Linked DNA regions of Homo sapiens: all the other regions are linked to region 3. The links are contacts of gene promoters, found by promoter capture Hi-C in human tissues and cell types (Jung and others, 2019). All regions are on one chromosome and are shown on one strand. The core of a region is centred on a gene start or on the middle of the fragment in contact, and the rest is flanking DNA. Distances in the headings are between cores, read along the strand shown.

Region 1 (3,142 bases), core at 43-2,542, 160 kb after region 3:
TCAACTTATTCAGATCTATGTCTGTTCCATCTTTCATAATTTTAAAAATGACTATGACGCTATTGTGTGTCTCAGCATGTGGGAGAGAACAGCTCTTCTCTTGTTTCCATTTTTATAATATTAGTATGGTTCGTGCTAACATTTATGTATGTATGTATTTGAGACAGAGTCTTAGTCTGTCACCCAGGCTGGAGTGCAGTGGTGCCGTCTCCACTGATTGCAACCTCCACCTCTTGGTTTCAAGTGATTCTCCTGCCTTAGCCTCCTGAGTAGCTGGGATTACAGGTGCCCAACACCACGCCTGGCTAATTTTTGTATTTTCGGTAGAGACAGGGTTTTGTCTTGTTGGCCAGGCTGGTCTCAAACTCTTGGCCTCCTCAACCTCCCAAAGTGCTGGAATTACAGGTGTAAGCCACCACACTGGCCTGACATTTATTTTTCTGAAGGAATTTTCAAATAGTTTCATTAAATGTATGGTTGATTCACTGGAACTGTAAACACAATTGTATTGAGGTTATAATTTGAGTATGAATTGACATCATTCATACATCAAGCCATACCACCCAAGACTGTAAACTGCTCCCCGTATGTTCAGATAATCTTCTACATGTTTATTAGTATGGATTTAAAATTTTTCTCTTTGAAGGTATGGGATGCTTTGGGTTAATTCCTAGATATTTCATAGTAGAATTTTTCAAAGTATGATATGAGGACCTCTGCAGGGTGATCCCTGAAGTCTTTATTTTTTCTAATTATATATTAGAATATATTTTCATCATATGCCTCAACTAAGACATCATACAGGCTCCCACCACCACACCCGGCTAATTTTTTGTATTTTTTTTTTAGTAGAGACGAGGTTTCACCATGTTATCCAGGATGGTCTTGATCTCCTGACCTCGTGATCTGCCCACCTCAGCCTAGGATTACAGGTGTGAGCCACCGCGCCTGGCACATATTGCCACAGACTGAATAAAGAAAGAAATGTGAGCATCAAGCTGTTTCCTGCCAAGCCAGGACATACGATGTTTTTGCTAAAACGTCAAACAAGGCTACTCTTCTCACGGAATGTTTTTTCTTAATGTGGTTATTTGCCTGAAAATGTTACTTATATTTGTAAGAGTTAAAGAAAGAAGAAAGAAACACGAAACATGGCTTGGCAGTTAAAGACAGGTTTACTTTAGATAAAACCTGAGGGGGGCTTCTGGCCAATTTCAGTCAGGAGAAGTTTCTCTTACACACTAAGAGTACATATTAGTTTTAGGGTGAGGGGCTTATCACAAGCTTGGAATGTTTCTGTGTGGGGGAGAAGTTTTATGGCAGGGTTGGAATGTCTCTGGGAGGAGGGGAGGTTATCTTGGGGCTGACATCTTTCCGGCCGGGTGGGAGTGATCTTGAGGCTGGCATCTTCCCAGCCAGAGGAGGCAAATTTCGGGGCCAGCATGTCTCTCACTGGGGAGGAGTTTGGAATATTTCTGGCTGGAGATGTTATTTATGGTTTATGGTTGTGCTGACCTTAGCCATTAGCCTGACACCCTTTGGATTTAGGCGGTTTTTTATTAAGGGGAATTTTAGAATGAGGGGCTTGTCCAAGATAGTGATGCTCCTGCTCTGTCAATATTAGCATGCAATAGGTTCATTATTGCTCTTTTAAATGTACTAATAACTAATATTTTAAATGATTTTCAATTTTCATTTCCAATATGGTAAAAAACAATGATAGTTCTAAGCCACAATAAACAAAAGCCCTTTAGAGTGCTCAGTAATTTGGGTGTGTAAAGGAATCCTGAGACATGTTTCTTTATATTTTTCTTTATATTTTGTGCATTTGAAATTTTGCTTAGGAAGTCTTTCCTCGTGCCTAGATTACAAAGTTATTATCCTACACTTTCTCCTATTAAATGTAAAGATAATGGCAAAGAGTGCAACTACTTTTGCACCAACCTAATAGTTTGTGTTGCTGTTGGGAATCTTCCCCTTCTCTGTATTCAACTTCTATTTCTTGAATGCTTGTTACTGGTGTGACACTAGGAGGATCACTGGGATTTTTGCCAGCTGACCTTGCCTTCTGCATCACTGGGCTCTGTTATTGTTCCAATAGATTATACCATCATTCTTTTATCTTTTATATGTAGATGATCACGTCTCTTCGCTTCCAGTCCTCAGATACCTTAGATACTTTGTTTCTTTTTCTTGCCTTGTAACATCACTCACGACTTTCAGCTCCATGTTAAAGAACAGCAGAGTTAGTGAGTATCCTTGGCTTTTTCTTGATCCTAAAATAATGCATCAAAAAGTTTCTTCATTTAGTGTATGTAGTATTTGCTAATTTTGTGCTATATATTCTATATTTAGATAAGAAAATCTCCTTGAATTTTGTGTTGTGAAGTGTTCTTTAAAAATCATAAATAGGAGTAGAGTTTAAGAAAAACATATTTATGCCTTTATTGAAATAATCATGATTTTTCTTTTTTAATCAACTCCTGTGATAAATCATATGATAGGTTTTCTGATGTTAGCCATCCTTGTCATTTGTGAAATAAATCTATACCACTTTATTATGGTAAACCATTTTTAATATACCATTAAATTTGACTAGGTTATGGTTTTATTCTGGAATTTAAAATCTGCATGGATAGGTGAAGTAGGCCTATAGTTGTCTCTTTTTCTTTTTTTTTTCTTTCTTTTTATTTTTTGAGACAGAATTTTGCTCTTGTTGCCCAGGCTGGAGTGCAATGGTGCAATCTCAGCTCACCACAACCTCCACCTCCCGGGTTGAAGTGATTCTCCTGCTTCAGCCTCCCAAGTAGCTAGGATTACAGGCATGCACCACCACACCTGGCTAATTTTGTATTGTTAGTACAGATGGGGTTTCTCCATGTTTTTCAGGCTGGTCACGAACTCCCGTGATCCACCCGCCTCAGCCTCCCAAAGTGCTGGGATTACAGGCGTGAGCCACCACCCCTGGCCAATTTGTCTCTTTTTTCAGCAAATATTCTTACCTGATTTTAGACTGAGATTGCATTAACCTGCTGAGATGTGCTGGTCAGATTTCCTAACACTTTTCTATGTTTTTGAAGCTCATGTATAAGATACTAACTGTTTCTTAACATAATAATAATTGCTAAACTTTAATAAAACC
Region 2 (3,213 bases), core at 714-3,213, 180 kb before region 3:
AACAACAACAACAACAACAAAAAACTAGCTGGGCGTGATGGTGGGCATCTGTAGTCCCAGGTACTCGGGAGGCTGGGATGCTGAGGCTGGAGAATCGCTTGAACCCTGGAGGTGGAGGTTGCAGTGAGCTGAGATTACGTCATTGCACTCCAGCCTGGCTGACAAGCGCGAAACTCCGTCTCAAAACAAACAAACAAACAAACAACTTTCTCCATAACTTTTATGTATAAACACTGGCTGATGTACAGTCAGTCTTAACAGGACCCATTTCCCATCCTGGTTGTTTTGAGTGAGACAAGCTATGTTGTGGAGCAAGAGTGCCCTAATGTGATCAAAAAATGATAAAACGAAGGAAAGTTTGTCTCTCCCCAACCCCCTAGAGAAACCATTCACAAAGATCCTATTTTACCCTGCCCTAGAATTCAACAAAAACCCTTACCTTAAATTTGTAGCAGTAGCTCTTATTCTGAGAACATCACTGCACCTCCTAGCCAAGGGGGAAAGCAGCTTCAATAAGGCAGAACTTTGCCTAAAACAGGAAGTTCGTTGATTTCAGGAGAAACTTATCTGTTGCATCCAGCAGGGGCATCCCAGTTGGGGGAACACGATGGATTCCGTGCATGAAGGTTGAAACCTGCTCAGGAAGGTCCAGGGTGACCAGGGAGGCCACTCTGAAACACTGATGACTACATCATTTTGTGGAGTGAAATTAAAGCTGCCGAGGCAGAAATACTTTGATAAGGGTTTATTTGAAGCCAAAGGTGAGGATCAACCCAGAAAGATGCACCAACACATTTGGATGTGTGCCAGAATCTTTTACAATTTGGAATGTTTTTATAAGAAAGTTTAGGAGAAGAGAAGGGAACTTCTTATATCAGAATTGTCTGTTTTTATTGGAGGGTATAATACAGAGGTCATAATGATTAGATACAGGTTATAACATACAGGCTAAAACATTTTGTATGTAAAACCATCAGTGAAACTTTATAAGAGAGGGCACAGTGGCTTATGCCTGTAATCCCAGCACTTTGGGAGGTTGAGACGGGCAGATCCCTTGAGGAGAAGCTCATCGCTCCTGAGGCCAGTAGTTCGAGACCAGCCTAGCCAATATGGTGAAACTCTGCTCTACTAAAAATACAAAAATTAGCTGGGCATGGTGGCACATGCCTGCAATCCCAACAACTCGAGAGGCTGAGGCAGGAAGGTTGCTTGAACCTAGGAGATGGAGGTTGCAGTAAGATGAGACTGCGCCACTGCACTCCAGCCTGGGTGACAAAGACCCTGTCTCAAAAAAAAAAAGAAAAGAAAAGAAAAACTTTATGATTTATAAATATAAAGCAAAACTTCATGGTTTAGAAACAAAGGATTGTGCTTTTCCATATCAGTGGAAAATCAGAACATCAACAGTTGGAAGAACTCATAAGATCTGAGTAATTAAAGATAAGATTTGAGGAACTCACAAGATTCTTTACTCAGGAACAGGATGTAACCCATGCATCAAGAGATCTTTTCCGGGGGCTAATTGGGACTAATGTGACTGGTAGGTTATCAGCAGAGACCACGTCTGTCTTGTTCAACCTGTGTCCCAGGTCCTAGCACCATGCCTGCTACCATTTAAGTGTTCATGTGAAGTTTGTTGTTGAGAAACTAATTACCTAAAAGTTAGAACTTGACCTTTGCATTTTATCGAGGAGGCTATGAGACTCAGAGGGTTACACAGCTAGTGAGTGGCAGAGCCTGGACTTGAACTCAGTTGTGCTGAAGCCAGAATGTGTTCCTTCCTGAGCATTCAAGGACAGGGAAGGTGAAACTCCAGCTAGTGGGCAGCCCGTGTGCTTGTTCTAGGGAGACTGCAGGCCGATTCCTGGGAGCTGGGTCTTCATGGTGACACAGTAAGAACAACTCACCTATTGGCTGGGCGCAGTGGCTCACGCCTGTAATCCCAGCACTTTGGGAGGCCGAGGTGGTTGGATCACTTGAGGTCAGGAGTTGGAGACCAGCCTGGCCAATATGGTGAAACCCTGTCTCTACTAAAAATACAAAAATTAGCTGGGTGTGGTGGCTCATGCCTGTAATCTCAGCTGCTCGGGAGGCTGAGGTAGGATAATCGCTTGAACCTGGTGGGGCGGAGGTTTCAGTGAGCCGAGATTGGCACCATTGCCCTCCAGCCTGGGTGACAAAGTGAGACTCTGTCTCAAAAAACAAAGCAAAGCAAAACAAAACAAAACGAAACAGAACTACTCACCTATGTTGTGGATCAACTGTGTCCCCACTGTACCAAATCCTTATTTATTTAAAAAAATTTGTTTTGGACCCTTTTCACAAGATGGTGCCGAAAGTGAAGAAGGAAGCTCCTGCCCCTCCTAAAGCCGAAGCCAAAGCGAAGGCTTTAAAGGCCAAGAAGGCAGTGTTGAAAGGTGTCCACAGCCACAAAAAGAAGATCCACACGTCACCCACCTTCCGGCGGCCGAAGACACTGCGACTCCGGAGACAGCCCAAATATCCTCGGAAGAGCGCTCCCAGGAGAAACAAGCTTGACCACTATGCTATCATCAAGTTTCCGCTGACCACTGAGTCTGCCATGAAGAAGATAGAAGACAACAACACACTTGTGTTCATTGTGGATGTTAAAGCCAACAAGCACCAGATCAAACAGGCTGTGAAGAAGCTCTATGACATTGATGTGGCCAAGGTCAACACCCTGATTCGGCCTGATGGAGAGAAGAAGGTATATGTTCGACTGACTCCTGATTACGATGCTTTGGATGTTGCCAACAAAATTGGGATTATCTAAACTGAGTGCAGCTGCCTAATTCTGAATATATATATATATATCTTTTCACCATATACATGCCTCTCTGTCAATTTCTGGTTGGGCTGGGAGGCCACACACAGACACTGACATGACAGGGCTTGGGCAAGACTCCTGTTCTACTTATCCTTTTGAAATATTCACCCTGCCACTCCACCATGTGTGATCACTCCAGAGATCTTTGTGACTAGAGTTAGTGTCCTAGGAAAACCAGAACTCAGAACTTGCCTCCATGGTTGAGGGTAACAAGAAGCTGTACAAGAACCCCTTTTATCCCTGGAAGAGGCTGTGTATGAAACCAATGCCCAGGGTTTGAAGGGCGTTAGCATCCATTTCAGGGGAGTGTGGATTGGCTGGCTTTCTGGTAGCATTTTGTCCTCACACACCCATCTACTGTGTCC
Region 3 (3,320 bases), core at 471-2,970:
AAATTACCTTGGGCAGTATGGCCATTTTCACAATATTGATTCTTCCTACCCATGAGCATGGAATGTTCTTCCATTTGTTTGTATCCTCTTTTATTTCATCGAGCAGTGGTTTGTAGTTCTCCTTGAAGAGGTCCTTCTATCTGATCTTTGACAACATGACAAAAACAAGAAATGGGGAAAGGATTCCCTATTTAATAAATGGTGCTGGGAAAACTGGCTAGCCATATGTAGAAAGCTGAAACTGGATCCCTTCCTTACACCTTACACAAAAATTAATTCAAGATGGACTAAAGACTTAAATGTTAGACCTAAAACCATAAAAACCCTAGAAGAAAACCTAGGCAATACCTTTCAGTACATAGGCATGGGCAAGGACTTCATGTCTAAAACACCAAAAGCAACGGCAACAAAAGCCAAAATTGACAAATGGGATATAATTAAACTAAAGAGCTTCTGCACAGCAAAAGAAACTACCATCAGAGTGAACAGTCAACCTACAGAATGGGAGAAAATTTTTGCAATCTACTCATCTGACAAAGGGCTAATATCCAGAATCTACATCTGACTAATTTTTGTATTTTGAGTAGAGATGGGGTTTCGCCATGTTGGCCAGGCTGGTCTTGAGCTCCTGAACTCAAGTGATCCACCTGCCTCAGCCTCCCAGAGTGCTGGGATTACAGGCATGAGCCACCGCGCCCGGCCCCCAACTCACTAATTCTCTCTTCAATTGTGTCTGACATGCATTAAACTTCTCCTGGGATATTAATATTGTAGCTTTGGTTCTAAAAATTATATATCTTTTTTTTCAAATCAACCCTGCCGCTCTTTACAATGCTTTATCCTTGAAGATATTTCCAAAATTACATTTCGTTATTTAAACTTCGTAAGCAATATTGTTTCATAGTCCTTGCCTGATAATTCCAGTATCTGAAATCTTTGTTGGACTGTTTCTGGAGTTATGGGGAACTGGGAGATTCTGAAGGTGTTGATACCTGGGTCATGATGCACCCTGTCAAGTTTATGGGGAGGAAGAGGCAGAGCTGGAGCTCTTGGCCCCTCCACTCCATCTGGGCTTGCTGCAGGAACCTACCGTGTGACCTTGGCCTTGTTCCCTGCCCTCTGTGGGCTTTGTGTTCCCAGAGGCAACCATAGAGGATGCTTCTTCTGAGAATCACACCTCTGTGTCTCTCCAGATCCCTTTCCTGATATCTGTTGAGAAGAGACACCATCCTGGGAAACATCACCCAGAATCCAGTCCCATTTTTCCAAAATGCTTGGAATTGGGGCAGCCCAGCCCAGCCTCGCTAGCCGCAGGGGGTGGTGGTGGTGGTGGTGTCAGGGTTTGATGGTGGTGTCAGGGTTTGATGGTGAGATCTTTAGGGAGGAGGTGATGTAAAAACTGAAACCTCAAATGAGAACAGGACTGAGATAAGTGAGAGTGAGTAGTGGTGGAAGGGGTCCCAGGCAGGAGGAAGGGAGGAAAGATGGAAGAAGGGAAGAAGAGAGGAAGGAAGGAAGAGAAGGAAGAAAAGAGGGAGGGAAGCAGCAAAGGAAGGAGGGAGGCAGGAATGGAGAGGGCAATCCCAAGGTCCCCCGCCTCCCTCCTTGGACTTCGATTACCCTGCATCCTGCATCCCAGGCAGGCTCCTCAAGACACCTCTGGGAACGTGCCACTGGGGAAGACGCCTGCAGAGATGAAGCTCTCACCCTGGGTGCACTGTGCCCAGGGCCATTACAGGCCTGGCTGCAAGGCGTCCCTAAAGGTCTCTGATGAAGGTAAGTGGAGTCGTCTATTTCCAAACCTGCTTTCCAGGATGAAGTGGCAAGAGTACTGGGAGGTGGAAGGGAGAAGGCAAGAGAAGCAGGGAAAATTGGAACAGAGGGAGGCACAGGTTTGGGAAAAGAAACGAGAGGGAGCATGGGATGATATGGAGTAGGGGTTCTATAGCCTCAGCCACCTGACTCCAGGCTGGATCAGCCTGTCCTCACTCCAAGTCCCCCATAGAGTCCACCTACTGCCTAGAGCAGCCCCCTTTCCACAGCAGTCGTGGCCACCAGGGTCCATGCTGGGGTGGGGAGTGGTCTCTATACTAAGTTGTGGAGGAGGGTGGTTCTGAGCCAAGCGGGTGACATTGAGTGTGTCACCATGCATGTGGGTGTACTTAGGCATCACCCATGTGTACTCCTGCCTTCACTGTGTGTGTGTGTGTGCAGTTGTGTGCGCTTGTATGAGATTATTGTAGCTGCCATTTCAAAGTGCCGCAAACCTTGTGGCTTAAAACAAGATAAATGCATTCTTGCAGGGTTCTGGAGGCTAGACGTCTTAAAGCAAGACGTCTACAAAGCTACTCTCCCTCTGAAGATTCTAAGGGAGAAGATGCCTTGCCTCTTCCAGCTTCTGGGTGCTCTAGGCATTGATTGATTTGTAGCTGCATCGCTCCAATCTCTGCCTCTCTCTTCACGCGACCTTTTCCTCTGTGTGTCCTCCCCTCGTCTTTGAGGGGCACCAGTTGTTGGATTTAGTAAACAACCTAATTCAGAATAATCTCATTTTTATTTTTATTATTATTATTTTTTGGACAGGGTCTCGCTCTGTCACCCAGGCTGGAGTGCAGTGGCACGATCACAGCTCACTGCAGCCTCGACCTCCCAGGCTCAACTGATCCTCCCACTTGGCCTCCTAAGCAGCTGTTAGCGCAGGCACACAGCACCACGCCCAGCTAATTTTTGTAGAGATGGGGTTTTGCCATGTTGCTCAGGCTGGTCTCGAACTCCTGGATTCAAGCAATCCCCCGCCCCACCCACCTTGGTCTCCCACAGTGCTGGGATTATAGGTGTGAGCCACCACACCCAGCTGATCTCATTTTTGGATCCTTACCTTAATGACATCTGTAAAAGACTCTATTGCCACCTAAGGTCACATTATTTTATTTTAGTTTAGTTTAGTTTGGTTTCAGGGTACATGCTCAGGATGTGCAGGTTTGTCACACAGGCAAATGTGTGCCATGGTGCTTTGCTGCACCTATCAACCTATCACCTAGGTATTAAGCCTGGCATACATTAGCTATTTTTCTGAGGCTCTCCCCACCCCTGCCCTACCCCAACAGGCCCCAGTGTGTGTTGTTCCCCTCCCTGTGTCCAAAGGTCACATTCTGAGGTTCTGAATGAACATGAGTTTTGGAGGGACATGATTCAACACACACAGTGCCCTCACACATGGAATGGCTGTGTGTCTCCAGTTTATTCCAGCCCCAGATGAGCACCAGGCATTTGGCAAGGGCTCCATAGGTGTGTGCAGAATGAGTGGTGGTGTCTCTGGT

The links. The method cuts DNA at HindIII sites, captures the fragments that hold promoters and counts their contacts. A contact is called where the count stands out against the background at its distance.
Region 1: a fragment that was not itself captured here is called in contact with the fragment with the promoter of OR10H5 in region 3 in 5 of the 25 tissues and cell types used here (mesendoderm cells, neural progenitor cells, ovary and 2 more).
Region 2: a fragment that was not itself captured here is called in contact with the fragment with the promoter of OR10H5 in region 3 in 9 of the 25 tissues and cell types used here (H1 embryonic stem cells, bladder, heart right ventricle and 6 more).

The regions. Positions count from the first base shown.
Region 1 is chr19:15,943,447-15,946,588 of GRCh38, forward strand. No RefSeq gene overlaps it. Among named protein-coding and RNA genes, the nearest start is that of OR10H4, 4.0 kb to the right of the region's middle. The HindIII fragment of the contact is 5,665 bases long and covers 1-3,142 here.
Region 2 is chr19:15,609,330-15,612,542 of GRCh38, forward strand. It overlaps the pseudogene RPL23AP2. Among named protein-coding and RNA genes, the nearest start is that of CYP4F8, 4.3 kb to the right of the region's middle. The HindIII fragment of the contact is 7,491 bases long and covers 1-3,213 here.
Region 3 is chr19:15,785,941-15,789,260 of GRCh38, forward strand. It overlaps OR10H5 (olfactory receptor family 10 subfamily H member 5), which reads left to right and starts at 1,721. Exons shown (of 2, transcript NM_001004466.2): 1 at 1,721-1,776. The HindIII fragment of the contact is 26,370 bases long and covers 1-3,320 here.